Regions from separate parts of the Homo sapiens genome. Here region 1 is linked to region 2. Evidence: promoter capture Hi-C in human tissues and cell types (Jung and others, 2019). All regions are on one chromosome and are shown on one strand. The core of a region is centred on a gene start or on the middle of the fragment in contact, and the rest is flanking DNA. Distances in the headings are between cores, read along the strand shown.

Region 1 (6,838 bases), core at 1,523-4,022, 220 kb after region 2:
GTGATTGACTGAGATCGACTGAATTGATGAGAAAGAAAAAAAACCCTAAAACTATAATACAGATTTATTTATTCCTATCATGAACATGACTTCACAATTGCAAGTGCTGGGTTATAAACAAGTTTAAAATTTATTTAAAAAGCAATGCAGCAAATGGTCGTGTTGAGGAGATAGTGGATGTATATTCATAGGAAAATATAAAAACAAATGGGCTAATGTTTTGTGAATGTATACACTCAGGATAAATTTTCCAGTGAAAACATTGTATACAGACCCAGAAAGTGCTTTATCTCAAAAAAGTGTGGACCAGTAAGAAAATAATGTGCTCTGGACAAAGCCATTAGATTCAACAGGCAGCTCTGTTAATGATGAAGACTACTTTAGGAAATACATATCAAAAGCTTAAATAAAATAGTTCAAGGAATGTGAAAAAGTATATTTTTATAGTAGTAAAGTAATTACATAATAATTTGTGATTATAAATATGTTAATTTATTTGATGAAGTAAATATTAAAAGTTGATATTGTTGAAGTTAATTAAGATGGAGACCATGCCTGAAAAAAATCCCTGAGCTGACAAACCCAATTAGAGCTCATAAGTTACCTCAACCTTGCTCGATTTGCAAACATAAGTGAAACAACCTGAGGTGTTTCTTGTAAATGCCTGTATTAACGAAAAACAGAACTCAATCTCAATCAATCAGAAGCAGCCAATTAACATATTATAATTAGCAACTTTCTAAGAAAAGAAACCAAATAAAGCAACTGTACAACTGTAATCAGTCAAATGTCTTATTTTCTTTTACCTCAATGATAGGATTGTAAAAGCTTCCCTGTTGCATTTCACTTGGTGGAGCTCTCAGATCACTTCTGGTTTGGAGCCGCCCGGTTAATGAATCATTGTTAGCTGCAATAAATTTTTTAAAATAGTATTGTGTTTCAGTTTACCTTTTAAATAGTATTTACAATTATATATACAAAATTAGATGTTAATATGGTAAAGTTAGTGAAAAAAACTTCTTTCTGGATCTTTTCCTTGGGAAAATAAAAGATGACTTTATGTTTTAGGTTAACTCAGCAGGAATGCATGGTACCTAACTTCATTCTGAACCATATTCCTTTAACATTTACCACCTTCTATTAATTAATCCCTCACCTATTTTCCACCAAAGATTAGTTCACTCACTTAAAAATTAACAAGTCTAGAACGTAATTTACAAGAAGAGATGTCTCCTAACTTCAGAAGCCTAAAGGTTTGATAAAAGGAGTTCTTCTTTAATGATTTTAACATGCATGATGATTTTCCTTTTGATTAATAAAGAAAAAGCTAGAATTTAAGAGCCAAAGGGTAAGCTATCACATCAGGCTCTGGCCAATCCTATGCTAATTAGGAAATTGCAGAGCCAATTAAGCAAGCGATGATTAGACTGTTGTCACTGGTCAAAGAAAGCAGCTAAATTGGTTTCTTTTGACTACCACATTTTAAACTGAACCTCCATTAAAACCACAAAGAGACATTTCTTTGAAAATGATTTTAAAAAAAGGATTTAAAAAACTAGATAATCTCTTTAGGGGATACTTTCTCCCAAAAAAGTGTTAAAGTTCTGAATGTGTAGGTTGCCTTTCACTAATAAGTGAAGACATACAAATAGAAAATACTTTCCCATTGACCAATGAGTAGATTAATAAGAACCCATGTGGGTTATTTCTTCTGGAATAATGCCTAATAAGGCTGTCAAAGTTACACTGGTGTCTTAATCCATTTTATGTTGCTATATAACAGAACACTTGAAGCTGGGTAATTTATAAAGAATAGAGGCCATGTGTGGTGGCTCACGCCAGTAATCCCAGCACTTTGGGAGGCCGAGGCGGGTGGATCACGAGGTCAGGAGTTCAAGACCAGCCTGGCTGAGATGGTGAAACCTTGTCTTTACTAAAAATACAAAAAATTAGCCGGACATGGTGTTGGATGCCTGTAATCCCAGCTACTCGGGAGGCTGAGGCAGATAATTGCCTGAACTCAGGAGGCGGAAGTTGCAGTGAGCCGAGATTGCGCCACTGCACTCCAGCCTGGGCGACAGAGCGAGACTCCATCTCAAAAAAAAAAAAAATGAAATTTATCGCTTATAGTTCTAAAGGCTGGAAAGTCCAAGGTCAAGGGGCCTTCATCTGGCTAGGGCCTTCATCATCTCGTGACGTGGCATCATCTCATGGTAGAATGCAGAAGAGCAAGAAGGCGTGTGTGTGTGTATGTGTATGTGTGTGTGTGTGAGAGAGAGAGAGAGAGGAATGGTGCTGAACTCATTTTTTAAAAAATCAGGAACCCACTCCCAACATAACAAACTCATTCCCTTAATAATTGCGTTAATCTATTCATGAAGGCAGAGTTCTCATTACTTAATCACCTCTTAAAGGTCCCACGTCTCACTCAACATTGTTGCATTGGGGATTAAGTTTCCAACACATGAACTTTGTAGGACACATTCAAACCTTAGACCCACGACCTCTCCAGTAAAACGTAATCAGGCATAAAATAATCAAGATTCCCTTGGGACCTACCTGCAAAAATTTAACTCTCAACACTTCAGATAAGTTTAGTCCAGTATTTTATTTTAAAGAATGAATTTTTTGAAGCACTCTTTTAGGATATAATTTTAATCCAAAAACTTTTCTAAAAGTTGAGTATGTTTGTAAGTTTGTTTGGCTCCCACTCTCATCTCTGATATTTTCTCTTGAGCAGCTAATTAAAATCCCAGAAAAGTCATCCCCCAGCCAATCCGTTGTTTCTTCACATCTATGGAAGATATGACATACATGCCTGACTAGGGTGCCCTAGAGCTTTGCTGTTTAAAGTGTGGTCTATGATCAAGAGTTGCTGACTAGAAATGCAGACTCTTAAGCCACACCTCTGACATTCTGTATCAGAATATGTATTTTTATCTTAATAAAAATAGGATGGATTTATTTCTGGGTCCTCTATTCTGTTCTGTTGTCTCTGTTTTTATACCAATACCATACTATTTTGGTTATTTTTGCTTTGTAGTAATGATAATAATATTTTAATAATAATGTTTTCAGGTAATATTAATACATAATATAATAAAGCGATATTAATAATAATTATTTAATATTTTAAAGTCAGTAGTGTGCTGCCTCCAGTTTTGTTCTTTTTTGTTGTTGTTGTTCAAGTTTGTTTTGGCTATTTCAGGTCTTTGTGATTCCATATACACATTAGATTTCTTTTTCAATTTCTGTGAAAAATATCATTGATATTTTAATGGGGATTGCACTGAATCTGTAGATTACTTTCGGTAATATGAACATTTTAACAATATTAATTATTCCAGTCCATGAACATGAAATTTATCTTTCAATTTATTTGTGTTCTTTTCAATTTATTTCATCAACATTTTAAAATTTTCTTTGAGGAGCTCTTTTACCCTCTCGGTTAAATTTATCCCTAGCCATTTCTTGTTTTGTAGCCATTGCTAGTTGCATTGCTGTCTTGATTTCTTTTTCAGATAGCCTGCTGTTGGCATGTAGAAACACTACTGATTTGTGCATTTATAGCAAACTGATTTTCAACATAGGTGCAAAAAACACACATTGGGGAAAGGATGGTCTTCTCAATAAATGATGCTGAGAAAACTGCACATCCATATCTAAAAGAACAAAGCTAGACATATATCTCTCACCACAAAAATCAATTGAAAATTGATTAAAGACTTAAATATAAGACCCAAAACTATAAAACTACTCAAAGAAAACAGGGAAAACACTTCATGACATTGCTTTGGATAAAAGTGCTTAATAAGACCTCAAAATCATAGGGACAGAAACGCAAAAATAGACAAATGGGATTATATCAAAATAAAAGCTCCTACACAGCAAAGGAAATAATCAAAGCGTCAAGAGACAACATGCAGAATGGGAGAAAATATTTACAAAATATGCATCCGACAAGGGCTAATATCCAGAATATATAAGGAACTCAAACAACTCAATAGTGAAAAGCCAAATAATCTGATTTAAAAATGAGCATGAGATACAAATAGACATTTCTCAAAAGAAGTCATACAAGTGGCCAACAGTTATGTAAAAATGCTCAACATCTTTGATTATCAGAGAAATGCAAATCAAAACCACAATGAGCTATTACTTCAACCTAGTTTTAATGGCTACTATGAAAAAAGACAAGAAAATAACAAATGCTGGTGAGGGTGTGGAGAAAGGAGAACTCCTACACAGTGTTGATGGAGGTGTAAAGGAGTATAGCCATTATGGACAACAGTATAAAGGTTCCTCAAAAAATTTAAAATGAAGCTACCATATGATCCAATAATTTTACTACTGGGTATATAGCCAACGGAAATGGAATTAGTATGTCAAAAAGACATCTGCATTTTCATGTTTATTGCACTGCTATTTACAATCCCAAGATATGGAATCAACCTAAGTGTTTCTCAACAGATGAATGTGTTAAATAAATGTGATACACGATGGGATACTATTCAGCCACAAAAATAACAAAATCTTGTCATTTACAAAAACATGGGGGACCTAGAGGACATTATGTTAAGTGAAATAAGGCAAACAAAGAAGGATAAATAGTGCACGATCTCATTCATATGTGGAATCTAAAACACTTGATGTCATAGGAGTAGAGAGTAGAATAGTGGTTACCAGGGACTGGGGAGAGTGCAGAGTGAGGGTATAGAAATAAATTAGTTAAAACAAAATTACAGTTAGATAGAAGGAATAAGTTCTGGTGTTCTATTGCACAGTAGAGTGATAACAATAAAAAAGTAATGTATTGTATACTTTAAAATAGCTAAAAGAGATGACTTTGAGTGTTCTCACAACAAAGAAATGACAAGAGGCTGAGGTGACGGATATTGCTTACTACCCTGATACAATGTATATATATGTTTATATATATATACACATACACATATATATAAACATCACAGTGTACCCCATAAGTCATACAATTATTACAAGCCAATTAAACACAAAATAAAACTTATTTGACAAACAGAAATGTCCCTTTGGTTTTTCACTTTAACGTTTGAGAAATAATCCTCTTGATTTTGTTTTTTTGTTGTTAATCTTTAATGCAGTGGTTCTAGCCCTATTTGCACATTACAATTACCTTGGGAAACTTCTGAAATTTCCAGTCCTGATGCCTAGGCCATACACCTGATTACATCAGAATTATTGGAGGTGAGTCCAGCCATCACTGTATTTTTAAAGTTCCCAGGTGATTACAATGTGCCACCAAGTATGAATCAGAATCACTTGATGAGCTTGTGAAAACACAGATTTGGGACCTCGATGTCCAGTTTCTAATGTATTAGGTAATGGTTGGGGTATAATATGTTATATTTTTAACAACTTCCAAATTGCTGCTGCTCTAATGACCGTGCTATGAGAACCACCAATTTAGAGGGTGTGATTTGAGGGTGAAATTTTAAAAAATTATTGTCCAGGAAAAAAATGTTACTCTATTTCCAGCTAACACCTTGATATTACCTTATAAAAATTAATGAATTTACTATTTATATCTTTACTCTGAAACCTACGTCTCTACTATGCTTCAGAAATCCAGTCATAGAGCTATACCATAGATTTTTCAGCACCCAGAACAGTTCCATTTTTAAAAAGTCACTTTCTACTAGATAACTACACCTGAACAGAACACTACTTAATAACTCTTGCCAATGTGTTCCTCCTGCTAGTTTTTTATCTCACTAAATGACATCACCATTTACCCAAGATATCTAGTCTATCATGTCCCACAGTTATCTGTGATTCTTTTTTCTCTTATGTACAGTATTTCAACAAGTTGTACTGATCACTTTTCTGAAACCCTCTTAATTATATTTCCTCTTCTCCTTATTAACAGAGCAACCAGCTCAGTCTGTCTCTTTTTAGATTATCCTCATCTCCTTACCCCGTCCTTACCCAGTCAGTCGTTGACTGAACTGCTGAAAGACAAACTGCTTGTCACCCACAAATCTTGTCCTCATACTTAAAAATGTCAGTATTTTTTCATGACCCATAAAATAAAGTCCAAAAGTAATATGACATTCAGAATAATCCCACAATCTGAACCCTAAGTCTACTTTTTCAATCTATTCCCCACAAATGTTCTTCATAAGCCTGCTGAATTTTCAAACCACTAAATTTCTCATTGTTCCATGAAGATGCTATTTTCATTCCTTTGCATATATACAAGCAACAAAAATATATACATGTTATATATACATATTATATAGAATATATAGAACTAGAAAACCCTTTATTGTTACTCTTCTTTCAAAATTCAACTCATCTTCAAGACTCAGATCTCACATTCTTTTAATGCAAAGTCTTCCTCAATACTCTCCAGAAGAATTAACAACTCAATCCCTTTCACATGTTTTGTTGTTTTGAGACAGGCTTTTGCTCTGTCACCCAGGCTGGAGTGCAGTGGCACGATCATGGCTCGTTGCAGCCTTGACCTCACCCAAGCGATTCTCCTGACTCAGCCTTCCAAGTAGCTGGGACCACAGGCGTACACCACCACACCCGACTAATTGTTTATTTTTGTAGATACGGGGTCTCCCTACGGAGCCCAGGCTGGCCTTAAACTCCTGGGCTCAAGCAATCCTCTGGCATTGGCCTCCCAAATTGCTGGGATTATAGGCATGAGCCACTGCACCATGCCCCAGGTTACTGTTTAACATTATCCTAATGTTAGTTTTACATCAATATGTCTTGCCTCACTCATGATAGTATCCTCTAGAGCATTTAGCAGTATCTGGCACTCAATGAAACTGTTGAATTGGTTATTATT
Region 2 (6,672 bases), core at 1,741-4,240:
CTAGTATTTCAACCCAGCAGGCTGAGACCATTTACTATAAACAAAAACAGCTCTATACACCTCAGCGAATAGCACTATTCAATTCTTTATGAATTCATAAAGACAACCCAACAAGAAAGAATAACTTATATCCAATATTCTCCAAGGGAACAAGGAAGACAGTAAGATTTAGAAATTGCTTGTGGGTTATAATGGCTCTTTTTTTTTAAGTTTCAGTAATAAACGGTGTGAAGAGTCAGCTACCGAGAAAATGTGCTTATGTAAATAAGTACCAATGCAGATGAGGTCAAATAAATGAGATACTATATCTTGCATAAATAATCAAAGTTCTCACTCTCCAAGGATATCTTAGAAATTCCCAGGTGTATGTTGGAAAATCCTAGTATGAATTAAAAAGCAACAAATTGATATTATTTGATAAACAGGTGCATGATTTTAAAAAGGATTTGAGGATTGAAGATGGGATTTTTAGCAATATTTAAATGGTAATGAAGCTGATAGTTGTTCATAAGGTGCAATAAAATGTTTTAATTTAAATTATTGGGAAATGTAAACTGTCAAAATCTTTAAACGAAAAGTAGTTTTTATCCAAAAAAATTGTCATAAGCATCTTTATTTACTGCATTGGTTTATTTATTCTAAGACGCGTACCAAGCTTAAATACAACAAGCATAGTCCTCTGGAAATCTTAGATTTAAAAAGAGTTTGAACCTGTATAGTAGTATTACCTGGAAAAAGTCAGAAGTATAGTTTCTGTTCAGTTATGCCCAACCTCCTAATAGAGTATCAAGCCTTTACTAAATATCGGGGCACTATGCTTTATTGTAGTTTTTAAAGACTTGTATAATACTAAGTCACACAACACTAGATGTCAACTTAACCTTGTAGGTGGCAGGCAAATCATACAATACTAGAGTGTTTTTCTCTGGCATTATCTAGAAGAGTTGCTGAACACAGACACATTCCTAAAGCAAAACCTCAAACCACCAAGAGACAGTTTCTATAGGAGAAAACTAAGCTGGCTAAGATTTAATTCAAGTAACACAAAGTTCTGGTCTCCTTTACCATATAATATTAAGATGCATGACTCTAATTTTAAAATCTCCTGGGGACAAAGTATGGTTACTCTTAACACTATTAAAATATTGGTTAAAGATAACCATTGGGTACTGGGCTTAATAACTGAGTGATGAAATAATATGTAAAACAAACCCCTGTGACATGTGTTTACCTATGTAACAACCCTTCACATGTACCCCAAAACCTAAAATAAAAGTTTTTAAAAAAGAAAAGAAAAAAGGGCACTTTCTATCCTTCCTTCAAATGGTGGTGATTTTTTTCTGGGGATATGTCAGAAGCACGCCAATTTTGAGTGAATATAGACGTTTTTGAACATGAAATTATCAGAAATGATAACAATTTGGCATCTAGCCAAACTCCCTAACATTCACGTCATTGATACTGAAAAACTGGTAGTACAAGGTGACAGCCTGAGGGGACTGAAGATTTTTGGAGTATTTGGAGTAGTGTGGTTTTTTTCTAATTTTTACCAATAGGATCCCCAGAAATAAAAGACTCTATCGTCACTGCTAACACTGGCTCATAATAAAGGTGATTCTCCAGAGCACGCCTGGTTTGATACCGCCACCCACTCCTTCCCTTGGCGACATTTTCCTGCTAAGAACGCCTAGTTAGCGCAATCCAGCCATTCGCGTTAGTTCTCAGAACTCTCTCAGAAGTTCTCTACCTTCTCTCCTCTCCCCGCCTAGATGCTGAAAGGTGATGGGAACTCGCGGTACAGGTACAGAGGCTATTCCTTTCCTAAGGAAGTGCTGCACAATGGCAGGTTTACCGTACTCAATTTTATAAACCCTCAATTAAACCAGAAAGCTTGTATATAGAGATTGGGTACCCCGCCCACCTCCTCAGATTGTCCTTTTGCCCCGACGCACTGCATCTACTTGCACTCTCCGATGCGGTTTGCCTCCTTCAAATCCAAAACACACATACCAGGCTCCCTCGCCGCTCCTCCAGTCCATGGAAGGCGCCCTTCTTTTTGCCAGCAGCGCGTCCTTCTCTCCCCGCCCGCAGGCGCTCACCTCTTCTCTAATCCCGGGGGCCCGCACAGGCTTCTCTAATGCAAGGGCACCCCGTACCATTCCCAAATCGGCGCGGGGACCCGTGAAACCCTGCCACCACTGTACACTGTCCATTGTCGAGAGTCGCGCGGGCACGCGGAAACGGCGGGCCCCGAAAAGTCTCAGCGAGCTTGTACAGCCCCAAGACATTCCCCACCCCCAACACATCCCGCTCTTGTTCCTCCTTAGGGGGAAGACGGAGTAAAGGGGAGTTGAAGAGGTCCCGAAGCTCCTCCTGGTCCCCCACCTCCATCCCTGCCCTGGCAGCTGGCTCTGGCCTCTGGGCTCCGCGGTGCCCATCCCTTCAGGGGTCAAGTACAAGGTCCTCGGCCGAATCGCCTCCCCGTTATACCCTCCCTCTGCCTTGAGCGCACAAACGCGAGAGAACCCTCGAACGGATGCCATATGGCAGAAACAGGATCGCGGGCGCTATGAGGGGCCAGCCTAAAAAGATCTCCTTCACACCCCCTCAACCCCTAGCCTTTCTCCCTACCCCGCCAACCCCCACTAACCACTTCTAACTTCCTCAGCCCAACCCTGTCTGTGCTTTCTAATTCCCACCCCCCCGCCCCTGGACAGCAGCCATTCGCCCGGCACTCACCTCAGGGAGCAAACAACGCCCCTCTCCTCCACCCAGACCGCCCCCCCTTCCGCCCTCTGGAACGGCGTGGTCCCTCCGCTCACCTCGTCTCTTGGCTGCCCCGCGCGAGTTTGAGTGTGTGTCTGCCGCGTAATTGTATCCGGGACAGAAGGGACCTGTGTTTGTGCGCTGAATCAGGTGTCGCCGCCTTCGGTGGTTCGGGGGCGTAAGGGAGGCTTCGGAGTTAGCGTGTTGGCTAAGGAGGGCTCTCTGGGTTCACAGTTGATAGCAATGCTTTAACCGTGTCCTCCCTCGGGTCCTCAGCGCGCCTGCTCGTCCGCAGCTCCCAGCGGGCGGCCAGGCCCCCCGCCCCCCAGCCGCGCCCCGCCCTGCGTGCGGCGAGCAGAGTCGGAGCGCGCCGCTGCCCTTCCGCACTTGGCTCAGCGGGGCACGACACGGGCCGCCACGCGCTCAGCCTAGCATCACTCGCCTCTGACTGCGAGCGCCTCCAGCTCCCCGGGCTGGGGCATGGATGCAGACGCGCCTTCGTACCACGCGCTCGCAGGCTGGGCAAGGGGCAGCGCGTTGGGATCCGGCCAGTCGTCCGCTGAGCGAGGTTGGCTTGCAGGCTGGGACTTTTCGCGAGCCCTCTGGGCGCTCGAGTTGCGAACTCTGACAACGGCACGTGGCCCCGCCCACTCTTCCCTCTTTGCGAGGCGTGTCCCGCGCCCTTTCTGCCACCACCCACGTAGTCCCTGTGCCCGCCTTTTATCATCAAGGCGGCTCAGTGAGCTCTGCGTGTTGATGTCGCGCCTTTTCTCATCTTCCTGCCTTTCCTGCCTCACTTCTGCTGAATCCATTCAAAAGTTATACTTGGGCAAGTGGGTGGAGGAGTTAGGAAAATTAAAAGAGGGATGCTTAGGTGAGCAGGTACCTGCACTGCCGCCAACCCAGGCTTCAATTCTGGCTCTCTTGTAGCGGAAAGCCTTAAAAAACGCGAGTTTGGGGATCCTGAAAAAAAGTAAATAGGGTTGCTGGGCTGAATAACATCCCTCCTCTCAGGCTCCTGCTGAAAGGGCCATTCATGATTTGCCTGGTTGAGCCTGTGGCGACTTTATTCTGACGAATCTGCCTTTGCCAGCAGCATAACCTTGCCAAGTTGGCGTCTTGACCAGCAAGCAACTGTGCCCAAGGAAGCCTCTCTGTGGTGCCTCAGACCTGAGAGGCCGAGTGCCTTTGAGCGCCTGAGGTAGATTGTGAGTTTCATGAAAACCGAGAAAGTCTAAGTGTGCATGTGCGTAAGATATTTTATATATATATATCTCATATATATATGAGATATGTCTATATAACGTGGACTGAATTGTTTATTGTTTATGTTTCGTGTCGAGCATAAATTCCAGAAGCTAAGATGCTTCCATAGCACACAAACGTTATGCGTTTAAACGTTGGAAATCAAAAATGCCATGTCAGGTCATTCTGTCCTTGTTCCAAAGTGAGATTCAGAAATAGGTTGGGATTTTCTGCCCTTAGATAAGAAAACGGAAATTATATTTTACTGTATATGTTATCAGTTAATGATAAATTAAAAAACTAATATACACTGCTGTTATTGTAAAATCCATATGCTCAAGAATGTTCATGGATGGAGAGATCTTCAAATGCCATTTCAAAAAAGAAAATGCACTTTTCTTCTTTGCAGATTAGGAATTTGAACATATTCCCTGTGCAAAATGCAGGGAATATTTTCACAGCCTTTGTACCTGATTACCATACTCTCTATTTATTTCTTATTTAAATTGCACTAGAAAACCTAAAGTAAATGAAATGTAACATAATAAAGAAAAGAGAATTTAGACATTTACTTTAAAAGCTTTATTTCTCAAAGGTCAAGCTTCAGTTTCAAGCTACTGTTTGATGATGCATATGTAAATTCTTGGTAAAAACTTGATCATTAGCAATTAAAACAACTTTTTTCTTTTATTATATAAAAATGTTTAAAATTGTTTCACCACATCCTTGTCCTTAAAATGGTGTAAACTGACCATTGTGTAAGGTTTTTGTCAGATTTTTGGATAGAAAAGGAGTATATATTATGTGTAGATATGTCCATGTTTATTGTTTCTCTAATCTATCTATTTTTGTCCACATTAAATACTGATTATTGAATTTCTCACAGCTCTACACAGTAAGGGTGTTCCATAATGTAAAACAAGTTTATTCAATCATCATATGAATAGTTGAAATACACTTTTGGAGTTTGAAATGATAAAAGCAAGAAATCAGTGAGGTTCATTTCACCGCCCCACCCCACTTTTCCTTTTTTTAATGCTCCCACCTTTAATTGTTAACATTATTGGCTAAGTGGTTGAATAAATGAATAATGAAAACATTTGCTACTTCTCTTTAAGGAAGGATGCATATTTTCCATATTTAATGTATCCTTCAAGCTCCCATTCAGATTAAACAAGATTCTCCCTATCATCTTTAGTTTATAGAATGTTGAATGGGACAGCATAGCCTGCAGTGAGAAAGTTTCAGCCAATGTGGAGTATGGTATTAAAATTCCCTCATTATTTCTGTGGACTATATATATCAGTATTCTCAATTGTTATTTTTTTCAGAAATACTTGTTATAATTATTCACCCCATATAACTTTATTGGAAAATATAAACAACCATATGTGAGATATTATATAAGTTTTGTAATCATTCACCATTAACTCTGGGATCAGACTTCCTAGAATTTGAAGAAGAAATTAATGAAATCAAACGTAACTTAATAGTAGTAGTAATAGAAATTTTAAAATCCTCTTAAAGTTTCTGCAAAGTGTGATCCCTGCCCCCTTACACTCAAGTTAAAGGAGAATGTTAACAGCCTGTCCTGTCTCTGTGGACAGTGGACCTTATCTATACTCCCCAACTCCAAATTACTCAAGTTTATTACAGGCCAGCAAGCTCCTGCACAGCTGCAGTCACAAGACCAATAAGTTTAGGTTGCAAGACATGTTTTTCTCAAGATGTAAGAAATGTTGTAATGCTTGATTAACTGCCTTTGTTTCTCGCTTCTGTAACTTGCTTCCCACCTCATGTAGTTCCTGCCTTAAAATGTTTAAAAGTAGGAAAAGCCCTTAGTTTGGGGCTCATACTTTCTGGACATATGTCCGGCTGGGCCGGTGATCACCTTAATAGACTCTCCTGAACCTTTTTCAGTCTCTCCAGTCTTTGATTGTCTTGTAACATTTCTGGGGGCTCATCCGGGATTGGAGAGGGAACATTTTCTGTCTCCTTTGCCTGTGGGCTACAGCCCCAGGACATGGGAGATCTGGGGTCCTTGGCACCACCAGGAGAGTTTCAGCCCAGAAGGAGAACTGCCCTCCCGCGTTCTGGGGCCTTCCCCCGACAGCACAAATGGAACCAGTGGAAGGGGTTGCAGGATGGTCACGGGAGCAGCGCACAGCCATCTGAACCACGGTAAAGTTTGGGCCCTAAGGCAAGACCCGTCCCATAAGGACGGAAGGGGAGCCTGATCATCTCCCAGGGCATGATGACTGATCTGACCCGAGGGGGTTGGGACAATGGGAGAGGCCCATTGATTCAGACAAAACTCACGCCCTAACCGACACCAGATGCAGGTGGGGCTCGCACGTCAGTCAGAAAGGAAAACAGTTTCAGGGACGGGGGAGGTGTGTGAGACAGTCTCAGGAGAGACCAATGCGGGGTGTGACATGGGGAGGCACAGATCTCTTAGCATGCACTGTGTGCTCTGAGGCGAGTGTGGGAAAAACCAGACCTAGAACACTGCATACAGCCCATAGGACCAGCTGTATGGCTGCAGCTAGCTGTAACAGGAATTAAGGTACTCTCCTGGCTAAGCAGCATCCACCATGGCTGCAGCTAGCTGTAACAGGAATGAAGGCACTCTCCTGGCTAAGCAGCATCCGAACCTCCCAT

The links. The method cuts DNA at HindIII sites, captures the fragments that hold promoters and counts their contacts. A contact is called where the count stands out against the background at its distance.
Region 1: a fragment that was not itself captured here is called in contact with the fragment with the promoter of UGT8 in region 2 in 1 of the 25 tissues and cell types used here (heart left ventricle).

What each region holds. Positions count from the first base shown.
Region 1 is chr4:114,372,516-114,379,353 of GRCh38, reverse strand. No RefSeq gene overlaps it. Among named protein-coding and RNA genes, the nearest start is that of UGT8, 220 kb to the left of the region's middle. The HindIII fragment of the contact is 4,313 bases long and covers 616-4,928 here.
Region 2 is chr4:114,595,125-114,601,796 of GRCh38, reverse strand. It overlaps UGT8 (UDP glycosyltransferase 8), which reads right to left and starts at 2,990. Exons shown (of 6, transcript NM_001128174.3): 1 at 2,823-2,990. The HindIII fragment of the contact is 5,100 bases long and covers 1,274-6,373 here.